Linked DNA regions of Homo sapiens: region 1 is linked to region 2. The links are contacts of gene promoters, found by promoter capture Hi-C in blood cells and fetal thymus (Javierre and others, 2016). All regions are on one chromosome and are shown on one strand. The core of a region is centred on a gene start or on the middle of the fragment in contact, and the rest is flanking DNA. Distances in the headings are between cores, read along the strand shown. Region 1 has its middle 42 kb from the start of TRIM2. Region 2 holds the start of RNF175 (ring finger protein 175).

Region 1 (5,632 bases), core at 2,233-4,732, 600 kb after region 2:
AAATAAAACCAGTCCAAATTGGGGTGGGATTGAGAACTAAGAGAGGAAAATCCCAGAGGGAGTGGAGAAGTGGAACCCATAAAGTGTCGGGAACGTTTTGAATTAAACAAAAAACTTTAATAATCGTGACATATCTGTTGGACCATTTGAAGAAGACTAACAATAAACCCATAGAAAATCTAGTATAAAAAAATGAAGTAATAATTAGCTCTGGATAAAACAAAACAAAAAAAAATCCAGCCTATGAAAGGAAACACAACTATAGTAAACTACTTGACTCAGCAGTGACAATATTTACATGGTCCTAGTAATATAAATACAGACGTAATCAAGACTTGTACTATAAGTAAGTCATAAGAAAGGAAAGACAGAAAGTAGAGTGTAGAAGAGAAAGCTAAGTTCTCATCTACTATAAGTGAGAGTCAACAGATAATACAAAAAATTTATCAATAATCAGTAGTATATGTATATCCAAGGACATTTCAGGAAGGATATGGGAGAGGCTGGTAATACTGGTTGCCTGCCAAAAGAAAATTCGGGAGGCTGGGGACCAGGGTAGGAAAGAGACTTTGATTGTTTTTATCTTTTTTTTTCTTGAATGTTGAACTATGTAAATATATTACTTATTTGAATAAAAGAATGAAAAATGTAACAGAAATAGCAGAAAGAAGACAATTTTTAGAAACATGGAAGCAACTAGCAGAAGAATGGCTAAGAATGTTGAAAGGGGCTGTCTTTAGGGAGGAAGCCTCTTTTAGTAAGGAGAAAAGAGACTGCTGTATTTAGATATAAGCTTTTAAAAGTACCATCTTATTTTTAAAAATTAAGTGCATGTGAGCTGAGCATGGTGGTATATGCCTGTAAATGTAATCCCAGCACTTTGGGAGACTGAGTTAGGAAGATTGCTTGAGGCCAGGAGTTAAAGGTTACAGTGAGCTATGGCTGCACAACTGTACTTCAGCTTGGGTGACAGAGGGAGACCCTGTCTCAAAACAAAACAAAACAAAACAATAAGTACATGTGTTTATATAAGTAAAAAGTTATTAAAACAAAGTTAGAATATGAGAACTGCTTCTTTTCGGGGAGAAGTTAGCTTAATTGTACAGATAAACTAAATTAGATAAACAAAAACTTGCCACAGTAAGAAATCTGTGCAGTCCCAAGCCAAGTGAGCAAAATGCTAATATCATTAATAACAGTTTTTTTGTTTTCCCACAACATTGTCTTAAAAGGTACAGTCTAAAATGGATTTGTATGTGAATAACAAAAATACAGCTTAAATCACAAAGCAGGGATATGTTTCCTAGGCTTCTTTAGTTTGCAGCACGTTTTAAGATGTAAATCGGCTGAGCACGGTGGCTCATTCCTGTAATCCCAACAGTCTGGGAGGCCGAGGCGGGCAGATCACCTGAGGTCAGGAGTTCGAGACCAGCCTGGCCAACCTGGTGAAACCCTGTCTCTACTAAACACACAAAAATTAGCCAGGCATGGTGGCACTCGCCTGTAATCCCAGCTACTCCGGAGGCTGAGGCAGGAAAATTGCTTAAACCTGGGAAGCGGAGGTTGCAGTGAGCTGAGATCATGCCATTGCACTCCAGCCTAGGTGACAGAACAAGACTCTGCCTCAAAAAAAAAAAAAAAAAAAAAAAAGATGTAAATCTAGGTTGGGTGCAGTGGTTCATGCCTATAATTCCAGCACTTTGGGAGGCTGAGGCAGGAAGATAGCTTGAGGCCAGGAGTTTGAGACCAGCCTGGACAACATAGTGAGACCTCATCTCTACAAAACTAATAAATTAGCCAGGCATGGTGGCTCATGCCTGTAGTCCCAGATACTCAGGAGGCTGAGATGGGAGGATTGCCTGAGCCCAGGAGTTGGAGGCTGTAGTGGGCCAAGATTGCGCCCCTGCACTCCAGCCTGGGCAACAGAGCAAGACCCTGTCTCAAAGAAAAAAAAATGATGTAAATCTAGAAATGGATCCCATTATAATTTTAGAGAAGCAATAATCTACAAGTTTCAGATATTTACAGTAACCACTGAGTTGCATTAAATCAACTAAACAAAGCAGTCAAATGTGGCTACATACACTCAGGTAAAGGTTATTTTTTTCCCACAAATTCTTAGAAAAACTAGGGTCTTACATGATAGGATTCCACTTCCAAAAAATCTTACCTCTTAGAAAGACACCCTTTTCACCCTCAGTTCTGGAGAGCATGGTCCATGTCCCAACCTGTTTCTTTAATTCACATAATTCAGTGGTAACTGATCACTTGGACACAAGTGGCCACATGAGAATTCCCCTCAGGTGGCATCTTGGGTTCAAGCCCTATAGTCTGTTGGTGCTGCCTCACTGGAAAGAAGAGCTCTTCCTATTACTGAGGTGTGGTATAACTCAAGGCTACAACAGAGGCCAATGCCTGAAGTCCACTTGCTCTGCCACAGTTCAGAAACTACTGTTTCTTATTTACTCATTCACTCATTGTAATGGCTAATTTTATGTGTCTATGTGCCTGAGCCATGCAGTGCCCAGATATTTGGTCAAACATTATTCTGGGTATTTCTATGGGGGTCTTTTTGCCTGAGATTAGCGTTTTCATCAGTAAAGAAGATTGCCCTCCATAATGTGGGTGGATCTTATTTAACTAATGCAGGTGTCACTAGAACAAAAGGATGAATGCTTTCCTGTGTAAGAGAGAACTTTCCAGCAGATGGTCTGTGGACTTCAGCTGAAGCATCAGCTCTTTCTGACTGAAGGCCTTGGAATTGGAACTCTGGCTTTCCTTGGGTCTCTAGCATGCTGCCCCATCCTACAGATTGGACTTGTCTATCTCCATAATCATATGAGCCAATTCCTTATAATAAATCTCTGTATATATCAATATCCATATCATCTATATCTATATCATCTATATATCTATATGTATATATTTCCCACTGGTTCTGTTTTTCTGGAGAACCCTGATACACTCAATCCAAACAAGTATTTCTTGAAGATGTACTATATGCCAAGCAGTAAGCTAAATGACTAAATGCCAGAATAAAGAGTTAAAACTACAGTCCTTACCCTTGAAAGTTTAGAAATTTGGCAAGAATGCAGACAACAGAAAGCTTTTCCTTAAAGTAAGCTGGCCAAATTGGTCCCACGCAGAGAGAATGTACACACGAATTTCATTTCGGAGGTTTATGCTTAATCATAATCAGAGTCTGGCCATATTTGCTTAAGCACTCATTTTTTTCTAGTGGATGGAAGTTTCCAGTGAAATATTGCAACTTTATGTTCCCTAATAAGTTAGCTGCAGAGGACAATTGTACATTGATTTGCTCTTGATCCATGGAGCAATCCTTGCTAATGCTTTTGTGTGAGTCTTAGACATAATTGACCACCTTGGAATACTGCCCAATATTCAGTCATCTAGGAAATTTGTTGGACCTGCCTTGTAGCAGTTGGCCTGTGAGAACCAAAGGATACAAAGAAAACTAATAAGTGTACTAGCGTTGTCTGTGAGAGTTCTTTGAGCACGAAGCACTCACTAAGCAGGGAACTCCAAGGGGAGCAGAATATTCCCAAGGATTCTGCTGTGCATCATGTCATATGCAGAGTATATCAGGAAAAGCAACGGCTTTAAATTCAGACAGACATGACTCCAACTCCTGCACCTGCTTTTTAACAGCTAGCGACTTTGCAAATGTACTCAATCTCTCTAAGTCTCAGTTTTCTCATCTCTAAAACGAGGATAATAACTTTTCATAGGATAACTGTTAAGGCTGAATGGGATCATGCATGCACAGTGACAAGAATGATGCCTACCATATAGCACGTACGTTCAATTCATGGAGGTTCTTTCTAGCACAAAGCTTTTGTGTATATTTGATTCATCTCTGTGCTTGTAAAAGCAGTAGGGGCTGGTTATAAACATTTGCTTGCAAAGTGTTTCTGTATAAATACAGTCTCCATCTCAAAATTTAGTATTACGTTCTTAGAACAAACAAGCTATTTTAGTTTAAAGTACAACAAAATCTTTGTTCCTTAGAATACTAGAGAATGAGCAGTAAATGGGTGTCCAAAGAGGCTGGCCAATGAAGAGTTAATCACTTTGGCAAGATGAGCATGCCTAGTCTTCCTCTCCCTCCCAGGGAAACATAAAAATCAATTGAAAGAACAGAAATTGAAGTCATTATTGTTTGTGAGCCAGAGAGCTAGCTCCCAACCCTCCCCTCCCCTTTTTAAAAATGAAGCCTGGCCAGGCATGGTGGCTCACGCCTGTAACTGCAGCACTTCGGGAGGCTAAAGCAGGAGGCTCAGATCACTTCGGCCCAGGAGTTTGAGATCAGCCCCGGGCAACATACAGAGACCCTTGTCTCTATGAAAAAAATAAATTTTAAAAATTAGCCAGGTGTGGTGGTGCATGCCTATAGTCCCAGCTACTTGGGAGGCTGAAGTATAAGGATCGCTTGAGCCTGAGAGGTTGAGGCTGCAGTGAGCCATGATCACATTACTGTACTCCAGCTTGGGCAACAGGGTGGGAACCTTGTCTCCAAACAAACAAACAAACAAACATCCCTTGAAGCCTAGATGGCCAGCATGGTGGCTCATGCCTATAATCCCAGCACTTTGGGAGGCTGAAGTGGGAGGATGCCTTGAGGCCAGGAGTTCAAGATCAGCCTGGACAACACAGTGAGTCCCCATCTCTTTAAAATGAGGCCTGGAAAACTCTAAAAATCCCAGTAGTAGCTCACAAGACTTATTTGTTTCCTTTGGAGAAGCTAATGAGATTGGTGATTTTTGCTCGCCTGTCTCAAAAGCGCTTATTTCTAGAACCTTGAAGCTTTGTTGAATCTCCGATTCATCTTTGTGCTTGTAAAAGCAGTAGAAAAGTGTTAGATAACACAGCTTACTCTACTCAATTATAATGCTTAACAAAGACTAACTTAAGGGAATTAAGGAAAGGGGAGAGGGAAAGCAGGGGAAATTTTCAGAGAAATATTTCGCTTAGAAGGTCATAAAAAGATGGTTCAAAACTGCAGTGTAAAGATTGTAACTGACTCATATTCTAAAAATTGCACTAAACAGTTCAGGGAAGTTGTAAAATAGAGATATAACAATGGAAACATTACTCATCACCAAACCAAAAGCATAGCAAAGTTGTAACTCTTACTTAAAATAGCTAAAAATAATGGGTTGTGGGAAAATGTTCAAGAATAATATACTAATGGAAATAGACGATCCTACGTATTTGATAAATATTTTCAAGTACTGAATTTTTTCAAAGTTTATTTCTCGTGGCATCAAATAGTAGGCATAGCTTATTACATAATTAAACTCGGAGCTACTGTTAGCTCTTCAGAAAGGCTGGAGATAACACAATGCTGACCATAAACCACATGGTTTACTGACAAACCATCTTGGGAGACAGTCTTCTTACAGATTTAGAAAAGTATATTCAAATTTTCATGAATCTTTTCAAGTATTAAAGTTTGAGTTACAAGCACAAGAGAGAAGAAAAAAAATCTAAGCAGAGATTCAAATGGTCATATAAGAATTTTTAGGCTGGTGTGGCTCATGCCTGTAATCCTAGCACTTTGGGAGGCTGAAGCTGGAGGATCGCTTGAGCCCAGGAGTTCAAGACCAGCATG
Region 2 (5,566 bases), core at 985-3,484:
GATATCCTGGGCTGGAGAGAAAAAATGGCTCTTGCCACATGAAGGCAGGCCACAAGATAGGTAGAGAAGTAACATGTCCAAATGAACCCACTATTTTTGTGTCCCCAAATCTGCTGCTCTTTCAATGTTCCCATTCTCAGCAATGGCAGCACTGTCTGCCCAAATGCTAGACTGCCCAAGCCACATGCCTGGGCACCATCCTTGGAGATGAGTCAAGTACAGTAGATTCTATTACCTAGATCTCCCATCCCCAAACACATCTCTCCATCTCCCCTCCACTCTGTCCCCGCACACACTCTCACCACCAAGGCCACTGTCATCCTTAGAGCTGAAACTACAGCAATAGCTTTCTGGCTGGTCTCTCTGTCTTGAGTCATAGTCATAGCCCTCTTCCCCACTCTTGAAGCCAAAAGGCAAGTCTGGTAATGTCATTTTCTTGCTTAAAACTCGGTAATGGCTTCTCATTCTCCTGAGGCTACAGTCCAAACTGTTTAATATGATTTATGTGGATCTGGCCCTTGCTGACCTTCGCAGCTACTTCCTTGAGAGATTAAGAACCCAGACCATGAAGTCAGTTTTGTCTGGGTTCAAATTCCCACTGCCCCACCTATTAGCTTCAAAACTTGAACAAACTTCTGGACCTCTCTGTGCTTCAGTGTTCTCCCGTGTAAAACACGGACGGTCACAATGCCCACCTCACAGGATTGTCAGGAAGACTGAATGAGCTAACACAGGTAGAGTGCTCAGGACGGCACCTGGCACACGGTAAGCATTCTATCAATGTTAACCATGATTTTTATTTCTCCAATTCATTATGCCTTCTCCAGCATTCCGGCCCTTGCATCCACTGTTCTCTCCATCTCAGACACTCTTTCCAACACACTCTGATCATGCTACAAGGTAGTCTTCAGATGTAGGTAACAGCCCCAGCGGCACCTGAAAACTTGTTCAAAAGACAAATGCTCAGGCTCCACCCTAGACCTACTATATTAAAAACTCTAGGGCTCAACTCCAGCAATCTGAAGATTTTTGTTTTGTTTTTTGATAGAGTCTCGCTCTGTTGTCCAGGCAGAAGTGCAGTGGTTCCATCACGGCTTACTGCAGCCTGAACCTCCCGGGCTCCGGCGATCCTCCAGCCTCAACCTCCTGAGTAGCTGGGGCTACAGGTGTACCACGCCCAGCTCACTTTTGTATATTTTATAGAGATGGGGCTTCACCATGTTGCCTAGGCTGGTCTCAAACTCCTAGGTTCAAGCAATCCGCCCGCCCTGTCCTCCCAAAGTGCTGGGATTAAAGGCATCAGCCACTGTGCTTGGCCAGCACTCTGAGTTTTAACAAACTCAGCATTCCTCCATAGGATTCTGATGCCCAGTTAAGGCTGGAAAACCAAGGCACCATCCGTGATAAATTGTACTTAGATGCTTATTTTTCTCTATCCCCTGTTAGGCTCTACGTTCCACAATGGCAGAGAAATGTCCATCTTGGTCTGTTCACCTCCTTTGTAGGTGTTGACAAATACGAGCCATCACAAACTGGAAAGGGGTAAGCTGTATTTCGTAGGACACATCATCTAATTCTGTGCTCCTCTTTTCTGTTTCCCCAAATCAACACCCAGGTATTTCTAAAGGCTTGCCTAAACGTTCCAGCTTGTTCTCAACCTTGAAGCCAGGCTTAGGCCTAAGTTGTAAAGGCGGGAGGGGAGACCCTGGAGGTAGAGGGGCAAAGGCAAGATGCTTGCGTCGCAGGGGCCCTGCATGGCCTGGAGCAGCATAGGGGCCAAGATGGTCTGCGCTCTCCCTAGATTGGAGTTTCTCTCCTTCATCATCTTTGGAGGAAGCACAGATAACTGAGGAAAGTCTGTATCTGCACAGCCACCCGAACTCCTGCCTCCTAATAAACACCTCTGAGGGAGAGGAAACTCTCTCTCTCTCTTCTCTTCCTCCCCAGCACCCCTCGCCCCCCCACCGCCATTTCTCACTCCTCTACTCCCCTCTCTCTCCCTACCCACCTCTGACCCCTCCTCCAGTCCTGCCGCCCGGTAACAAAACCGGGGTTCCCGCCACACGCACCCGGTAGGGCTCAAGACGCTTTATCGGCGACAATGGCTGGCTGAATGGGAGGCCTGAGGTTCTGAAGGAACCGGGGTGCTGGCGACCGGGACCTCGAGGCCGCTGCTGGGGAGGACGCTGGCCAGCGTGCAGGGGGCGGAGGCGGGGCGTGCCGGGAGGCTCCCATCTCCCGCCCCGCACAACCCGGGCAGGGCCGCCGCTCCGCCGCCGCCGCAGATCCGGCTCTCACCCTCGGCTCCCGAGGCCCCGCGGCGCCTCCTTCTGCGGACTCTGCGGGACCCTCCCCGGCAGGCGCTGTGCCCTGGAGAAGGCACAGTGGCTCAGGCATGGCCGCGGGGACGGCGGCGCGGAAGGCAGCGCCGGTGCTGGAGGCCCCCCCGCAGCAGGAGCAGGTACTGGCGCGGGGGCGCGGGCGTGGGGGACGCCAGGCCGGGGTCCCGGGGCTCACGCTGGTGCCGGGCAGGCTGCACAGACTGGTCTCCAAGACCCCGGGCCCCACCGGGGAGAACCGGCCCTGGAAAGACGTGGGGACGGACGCATGACCTTCTGGAAGATGCCACCGTGCGGGGTGCCAGTCCCTCCTCCACTCCCTCCCTCCCCACTTCTGTGCCCTCCCCGCTACCTTCCTTTCCTCCTTCTGATCCTCTTCCTTCGCTCCATCCCTCTTCTCGCATCCTCGCACTTTCTCTTCCAGGCTCACCCCTTCCACTCCCGCCCTCCTTTGTGACCGCCTGTGCCCTCCTCCCTCCTCGGCGGAAGCCCCCAGAGCCCAGGGTCAAGGTCGTAAGCTGCGAGAGAGGGGAAGGGGTGTACTGCAGGCTTTTGGCTAGACCGCCCTGGTTCTCAAACTCGAGTGTCATCAGAATCACTCGGAGGGCCTGTTACCACGCAGACTGCTGGTCTGTGCCCAGGGTTTCTGATTCAAGATGTGTACCCTGATCGTCAGCTTGTCTTGCCTGGTGCTCAACCTAGCCCATTTCTGCTTCTGCTGGCGTCAATTGCAAACCCAATCTTAATTTATTCTTCGTTCATAGGACAATTCTTCTTAGGCTACATCCAGGTACCAGGAGGATTTGGGGGTGGAGGAGGGTAGGTCTTACCTGGAGGAACCCAAATCCCATCCGTAAAACGAGGACAAAAATAACTCTTAAGGGCAAAGATAACTCTTAAACAACAACAAAAATCACTCACAGAGCGGGTAGGAAGAGATTAATGTCCCAAAATAGGTTCAGGCAAAGAACTGTAGGATTTCTGAGAAGGGCTTGCTCCTGACTAACCCCCTTCTCCTCCAACCCGTGAGGGCGTGGCATTCGAGCTGGGTGTTGGGGAATGGACAGGATCTGACCTCATGGGCCAGAGAATTCTAGATGGAGGGAACAACAGTACCAAATGGCTTGGAGATTTTTTTTTTTTTAATATTGGGATGGATGGCCATGGGACAAGGCAGAGAGAGGGGACTGTCCACTCTGACTGCCAGAAACCTAGGGGTCAGGAATGCTTATAGCAAAAAATAAGGGTGGGCTAGGCTGTGGAGGGGCTTGTGTACCACAAAATGGGGAAACTTAAAATGAAACTCCATGACTTTCTTGCTGGTTTCAAACCCAGATTATCGAAAGGGAGGTTCTGAATTGATGAATGCATGCCAGGAGTGTCAGAGGATCTAGTACTGGTGGATTTGCTGCTGATCTTTGCTCTTCCTTAAGGCTGGCATCACTGCCTAGTCTGCTGCCCTCAGGAGGTATGGCCTCTCTGTTGAGGCTGCCCTAGGAGGGACTCACAGCTTTTCCCTTAATCCCATATGGCAAGACAGTGTGGTCCAGGAACCAGCAGCCAAGGCATTACCTGGGAGCCTGTTAAAAATGCAGTCTCAGTTCCCACGCCAGACCCACTGAATTGAAATCCGCATTTTAACCAGATCCCAGGGTGATTCATTTGCACATCAAAGTTCAAGAAGTGCTGGTTTCTTGACTTTACTAGAGCTAGGGATAAGAAAGTGAAAACAGAGATAGTTACTGACCAGCCTATTATCTGATAGCTTCCCTTTGGTTTGAACCTCACCCTATTTTATTTTCCTTCATCACCCTTATCACTACCTGAAGTATGTCTATGTGTGTATTTGATTGTCTAAGAACCTCCTTCAGCATGAAAGCTCCAGCAGAAAAGCCATGTGGTCTGCCTTGCTCGCTCCTGTATTTCCAGGACCTAGAACAGTCTCAGCAAACGGCAGGGCCTCAATAAATATTTATTGAATGAATAAATGAACAGTAACGTACAATCTTATGATGTAAGACCCTAACTCCAGCATACCTTACTGGACAAACACCATCTCCCTATTCCCCATCCTCCACCTCCCCAGCTACAACCCCTGGGGTCTTTTGAGCCTGCAACTGGTTAGGTATGTTTGAAACTCCTAAAATTTGGAGTGTGAGAGCAGAGACCATGGGTTTAGGAGTTCCCTCTTCTGCTTGTCTAAGGCTTGCTTTCCAGGCTCGGATTTCTCCTGAGAGCTGAGAGGACCCACCACTTCCCCAAAACTGCTCTCTGCCTGGGGGCAGGCCATACACAGCCCCTCCTCTCCACCCACAGGCATGCAGCCTTGCCTTGTGACATGAATTCCTTACCAATGAATACAGCCCTCTAAACCTAACATTCCTACCTGGCACTCACATGTGGTCCAGGGTCATCACTAGTTTCTGAGTTCATTGTTCTGGCTTTGCTACTTGGTTTAGAAAGATTTTTCTAACAGGTGGGTTTTGTGAGGGAAGAGTTGAAAGTGACAAAATCAGTTTGGAGGCAGCAGTTCAGGTGAGAGATAATGAAAGCCAATCGGGGTGGCAGTCTCCAAACACATTGAGTGTGCCATGCACCAGACATGAGGATTCAGTGGGGGGATGAGGCCAGCGCTGGCCACCTACAGATTCAGGTAAGTAAATAAGTCATCAACAATGCAGTCTGGTAACAATGTTCAAGGTCAGTATATATCCTGGTAGGGGCCTCACCGAAAGGGTGTCCTGGAGTAAGTGGGATCCAAGGGTGAGCAGAAATGAGGCAACCCAGCATGGAGGCTGGGAGTGGAGGGAGAGCATTCAGGGACAGGAAAGCTCTGCTTGGCTGGAGCAGAGGGTGTGCAGGGGCAGTGGAGAGAGGGGAGGCTGAAATGGGATACAAGGCCTTGTGAGCCATGTTGGATTTCAGGCAGGAAGACAATAGGATCAGTCTACCTTTAATGGGAACACTCTTACTGTTTGAAGAGGGAAGAGAGCGAAGGCAAGGGCCTCAGAGGAGGGGGACACCCTGCATGCTGGCCTCCATCTCATCTTCCCCTAGCCACCCTATCTAAAGAGTGACAGCCCTTGCCCTCTGCTGGTAATTCTTTATCACACATTTTATTTTCTTCATATAATTTACTTCATTAGGCAGTTGTTTTGTTTGCTTGTTTATTGTGCATCATTTCCTCTAGAACACAAGGTCCTATTCATGAGAACAGACACCTTGTT

What was found. Contacts are between HindIII fragments. The CHiCAGO score rates a contact against its expected background, and 5 or more counts as called.
Region 1: a fragment that was not itself captured here is called in contact with the fragment with the promoter of RNF175 in region 2 in 1 of 17 cell types (monocytes); the score reaches 5.2 in monocytes.

Annotation. Positions count from the first base shown.
Region 1 is chr4:153,159,514-153,165,145 of GRCh38, reverse strand. It overlaps a transcript of TRIM2 not described here. Among named protein-coding and RNA genes, the nearest start is that of TRIM2, 42 kb to the left of the region's middle. The HindIII fragment of the contact is 747 bases long and covers 3,109-3,855 here.
Region 2 is chr4:153,756,692-153,762,257 of GRCh38, reverse strand. It overlaps RNF175 (ring finger protein 175), which reads left to right and starts at 2,234. Exons shown (of 9, transcript NM_173662.4): 1 at 2,234-2,461. The coding sequence starts at 2,396. The HindIII fragment of the contact is 8,763 bases long and covers 1-5,566 here.